2 separate regions of the Homo sapiens genome follow, and region 1 is linked to region 2. The links are contacts of gene promoters, found by promoter capture Hi-C in blood cells and fetal thymus (Javierre and others, 2016). All regions are on one chromosome and are shown on one strand. The core of a region is centred on a gene start or on the middle of the fragment in contact, and the rest is flanking DNA. Distances in the headings are between cores, read along the strand shown.

Region 1 (2,700 bases), core at 26-2,525, 91 kb before region 2:
CAGGCAGGAATAGAACTCCTGCCTTATTTTCCCCATTTTTTTCAAATTCAACATTCTTTTTATTTACGTTTTTGACATATAAAAACTGTACATAATTAATGTGTACAACTTGATGAGTTTGGTCCTTAATTTTTTCACTTTGTGTGATCTCAGGCATTTTACCTTTACTTCCAGAATCTTAGTTACTCCTTTTTTAAGATGAAGGATTTTGAACTAAATCATCTCTGAAGTCTATTCCAGCTCTAACACCTGTATTCTGATTTATACCTTTAAGAACAATAAATAGGCTATATTTATAGATGAATACATGAGCATTAATAGGGACAAAATCACATTTTACTGTTGTAACAAGGGCATAATTAATAGTTCATAAATTGAAATTCACTCAATTCTCTAGAGTGCTAGCAGGCAAAACAGAAAATTACGAAAATAATTTGTTTCAGTTTATTGAGAGGTTTCAAAGCTTCTTACTCATTTTCCCCCTAACTATTCCAGTGTTTGATTTCAAAGAGATTTAAAATCAACAATCTCTATTTGTGACAACTTCAATCAGAATTCCAGAAAACTAGCTAAAAAGAGATATAGAGACATGCGTAATATGAGGAAAGGAGTTTGACTGAATATTTCCAGTCACAACAAAGCCTCGGATTAGAGGCGACTTCTGAAATATGTGATGCTTGCTTCTTTCCCAGGGTGCTAATAATTACAGCAATGCAAGAGTTTGCACAATGGAATCAGTTGGATGTTTTCTTTTTGAGATGAGGATAATTGATTTTTATTCATCTGTTTTACTACCAAATTATACTGAAATAGTTACCAAACAGTTGTCAAATTACCATTTAAGTGAACTTATTTTTACATTGTTATGAATAAAATTCTCTACCATACTGTTCCCAGAAAACAATTACTATTTCAATTTGATTAAGTGAAGTAAGAATTGAGATTTCATTTCTGTTTGCCTCTTTCTCCATTTCCTCAGCTGCTGAGAAATACCCCAATGTGAAAATGCACTTTAACCACAGGCTGTTGAAATGTAATCCAGAGGAAGGAATGATCACAGTGCTTGGGTAACTACGGGTCAGGTTTTGGACTTCAGAGGTGAAAGCTGGGAGTGGAGAATTGTATCTGCAAACTTTGTTCTTTGGCTCTTTTGAAAGAGTTAAAAGATTATTGAAAGGATCATCCAAATAGTTTCTAGATTCAAGGAATTTTAGATTGCAAATAGGCCCTGATGGCCATCTGAACACCAATGCCAATAATTCTTAATTCTCACACTTGCTCACCTTCCTACTGTACTGTATTCCACACTGGTGACTCTAATGTGCTTCAAACTCTCTCCTCTCTCAAATATACGTGACCCTCCACTGCTCTCCTCCTGTTCTCTTTCCAGGTGCTATTTCTCTGCCTTTCCTTGGATGATTCTATTTCCTCTAAGGTTCCAAGCCTCATATCCCACTCTTGCGATATGCTATGGATCCACGCTCATGGGTTCAACAACCACATCTCTAAGATGAACATTTCCAGTCCAAGCCTCTTTCTTCATTCTAAATCCTTATAGAAGCTCAAATCAATTTATGTTAACTTCTCATCAAACATCCTTGCTGGAACATCTTGCCATTATCTCAAACATATCTAAAACCTTGATCACCTACTTCTCCCAAATCACATCCCATTCCTGACTTCCCCAGAACTAATGCCTGAATAATTTGAATCATTCATGATGTGTTCTTTCCCCTGTCCTCTCCCATTAAATCTATAACACTCCCCAGTCTATCCTACTTTCTACTGGCTTCAGAGTCTGTCTTCCTCCTTCTAGCTGCAGGACAGTACTTCCGGCTCTCATTCCTGCACATGTAATATAATGTGTTGCCATCACCTCATCCCTGTTTTCTGCTCCCTTTGGCATTCGGCCTTCTCTTCAAACTGCCAAGGAAGTTTTCTTAAATTGCAACTCTTCATACATCATTCCCCTAATAGATAATTTCAGTTTCCCTTTTGCCAGAATAATGTTTTAAAATCTTTTATCTTGACATTCAAGATTCTCTTCTTTTCCCCTTCCTTTCTCTCCCTACCTTGTATTCTTTTCTTAAGCTTTTCTTCTAATACCTGTGCTCAAGACAAATGTATTGTTCTTAGAAAATCCTGTGGTTGTTCATACATTCATTCGTACACTTGGAACACTTGCCCTGTTTTCAAGATTCTCCTCCTTCATGCAGAAATCTCAAATCCTGTCACACTTCTGTGGCCTACCAAGTCTTTATTAATCAATATGGTGTTGTGCTATTCTCATAAGCAAACTTATGACTGGGACAAGTGTTTTCATCTAAATGTTACATCTATTAACTCAAAGCTCCAAGTCAAACATGTGAAAGTGAGCTTTCTAAGTTATCTATGGAGCCACTACTTCTCATACCCAGAGGTACATCATCATTTTCACCACTAGACATATTTTTCTTTTGGATGTTTTGTTCTATTTTTCAGATCTGACAAAGTTCCCAAAGATGTCACTTGTGACCTCATTGTAGGATGTGATGGAGCCTATTCAACTGTCAGATCTCACCTGATGAAGAAACCTCGCTTTGATTACAGTCAGCAGTACATTCCTCATGGGTACATGGAGTTGACTATTCCACCTAAGAACGGAGATGTAAGTCCTTGCCCTTTTTCAACCCCTTCCCACAACCCTTGCTCCATGAGCGC
Region 2 (2,785 bases), core at 270-2,769:
ACCTCTTTTACTTTGATTTTTACCCCCACCCTAATACACACAAAATTCCTCTCTCTTCGTAGCACAATTGCTCACTGATACATTATTTATTTGTTTGTCTGTCTTCTGCATTAGTCTATAAACTTGAGAAGCTATTTTATTCACTGCTGTATCCTTAGTGTCTAAAACAGCCTCTAGCATGAAGTGTGTATTCAGTAAATATTTCCTAGATGAATTAATGGTGAATGCATTAGAATTGTAGGAAGAGTGGTTCTCCAGACATCACTGTACAGTGGTTTGAAAGCTTTAAAGGAAAAAGGAGGAGAAACAAATGGGGTTGGGGGATTTTTCTTTAAATAAAATCTTACTGCGCTCTCCTAACAGATAGTTAGAGGTGGACACCAAGAAGACAGTACTGGAATTGGAGGTGCTCTGAAATGCCATCTGCTTCATCTCTGAATGCAAGTTCTTGAAGAATGTTTTAAAAGATGGACTACCAAGGGGTAGGAAATTTATCTAACTCACCTAAGCCATAGGAAGTTAACTAATTGTTGAGAAACATTAAACAACTTCTCCTTCCCATAAAAAGTTGAAAATTGGAAAACCGGAGTCAATAGCATTTGGACTAAGTCGGATTGGAGATTGCAATGACTGGGAAGGAGATGTGCAGAAAGGCCTCTTCTAATTCATCTGACCTCTTACCTTGAAAAGCTGTCCTCATAATCAGAAGCCACTCCTTCCTTATCCTTGGCTCACTTTATTATTTCAATCGAAGGACAATGCACAAAGGAAGAAGAGCATTTGTATTCCCTATGACCTCTAAAAATGTTTGTGGTAGAAATGACAGGTGCTGAAATACATTTCATCTTTAGAAGTTCGAATTTCCATATCCAGTACAGTGGCAAGAATAAGTGTGAATATTACTTTTTTTTTTTTTTGAGAGGAAGTCTCACTCTGTCACCCAGGTTGGAGTGCAGTGGTGTGATCTCAACTCACTGTAACCTCTGACTCCCAGGTTCAAGTGATTCTCTTGCCTCAGCCTCCTGAGTAGCTGAGATCACAGGTGCCCGCCACCACATCCAGCTAATTTTTGTATTTTTAGTAGAGACGGGGGTTTCACCATGTTGGCCAGGCTGGTCTTGAACTCCTGACCTCAGGTGGTCCACCCACCTCGGCCTCCCAAAGTGCTGGGATTACAAGAATGAGCCGCCGTGCCTGGCCAAACTTTACTTTCCGCGGTATTGTGAGGAAGGCAAAAGGTTTGAGGTGAGAAGAGATACACGAGGGAGAAAGTATTACCCAGTTTTCTTACTTGTTATTTACTCATTCCTTTTCCCTCTCAAGCAGTATACACAACACACACATGTGCACGCGCACACACACACACAGTCTGTGGGGAAAAAAATATCTCAATCTCCTCCTTATGAAGGAAGTAGGATGTTACAGAGATATTATGATGCAATGAGGACCCTATGAAGGACACTGATGACATTGTGAGGTCAGGATTTTTACTGAAATGTTTGTCTGTATGAAATGCATCAGACCTAAATCAGCTTTCCTCCCTGCTAACATCCTAGTGGCAACTCTTACTCCTACCCGCACTATGGGATTTTAAGATCAAAGGAATTAGACCTAGGGCAAAAACTGAGACAGCAGGGAGGCACTGTAACAACTGGAAAGTTTTCCAAATTGGTAAACTTGCAGTATTCTTTCTGTACAGAAGTAAAAGATCCCCTATGTCCCTATGGATATCAGGAAGGAAAAGCGTCTCAACATGGCACTTCAGATGAGCAATTTCAAAAAGGCTTTGAACAGGTTTGAAAAATTGGTTGAACAAACAGCAGCCCAGAAAAGAGATGAAAGAGCAGGCTTATTTATCCATAAAGAAGGTAAGATCAGTGATTACACGATAGTCCAATTGGGTCTGTTGGTTAGAACTGGAAAATGTTTTAAGCCATCAGAGAGAAGCATCAGAGCTTAATGTGAAAGAATGGGTGCTGAAAGGGGATGAAGACCTCAGTTCTTGTTCTTTCTCTGTCCCTAAATAACAAAGCGGACATGAGGAAGCTTTTGTTTTGTTTTGTTTTTGTTTTTGTTTTTTTTTTTTACTTCTCTGAACCGAAGTTGCTTCAATTGTAAAACTATGGGATTGGATTAAATGACGTCCAGTGTTCTTCTGTAGACGCTGCCATTTGATGGCTCACTGGTTGACCTGGGATGCTCAGTAATGTATAGCACTGCTTTTTCTTAGCCTAAAGATATCATGAGACCATAAAGACTTTCATAAGAAGTGCAGCTTCCTGCCTCACCATGATTCCATTGTCTTGGCCACTCTCCATATCTCTAGGCAGGAATGATCTTGAGGATGCAAGCTAAGGAGAATATGGTGGACAGTGGTCTTACAGGAGGATTTGCAGCAGAGATGCCAGTGCATAGACAAGATTCAAGGGGAGTGGTGTAGTGTACAGCTTTGGCGTATTGAGGACAGCTGTGAAAAATAAAGCTACATGGCAGAGTGAAAGACTAACAGAACAAACCCTGCTGTTGCAATGAAAGGAGCAGAGCCCATATAATTGCTAAAGGGATAGTATAGCCAGCCTCTGAGTGTGCCAGGCTGCATAGTAATTTGTAAGTGAAAATCTTGACTTTGGGTGTTCAAACCCAAGCTGGTATTAATTGAATAGTATTTAATAATTTATAGTCATGTTAATCAATGTCATTATGTTCATTTTATTTGTGGAAAAAATGGGAGCTGAAGATAAATCATTTGCCCAAGTTACCCAAATTCTTTTCTTTTCTTTTCTTT

The links. The method cuts DNA at HindIII sites, captures the fragments that hold promoters and counts their contacts. A CHiCAGO score of 5 or more calls a contact.
Region 1: a contact is called between a fragment that was not itself captured here and the fragment with the promoter of WDR64 in region 2, in 3 of 17 cell types (non-activated CD4 T cells, monocytes and activated CD4 T cells). The highest score is 6.8, in non-activated CD4 T cells.

The regions. Positions count from the first base shown.
Region 1 is chr1:241,559,686-241,562,385 of GRCh38, forward strand. It overlaps KMO (kynurenine 3-monooxygenase), which reads left to right. Exons shown (of 15, transcript NM_003679.5): 6 at 980-1,067; 7 at 2,482-2,647. Among named protein-coding and RNA genes, the nearest start is that of KMO, 29 kb to the left of the region's middle. The HindIII fragment of the contact is 1,628 bases long and covers 462-2,089 here.
Region 2 is chr1:241,650,762-241,653,546 of GRCh38, forward strand. It overlaps WDR64 (WD repeat domain 64), which reads left to right and starts at 1,520. Exons shown (of 28, transcript NM_001367482.1): 1 at 1,520-1,868. The coding sequence starts at 1,724. The HindIII fragment of the contact is 1,763 bases long and covers 282-2,044 here.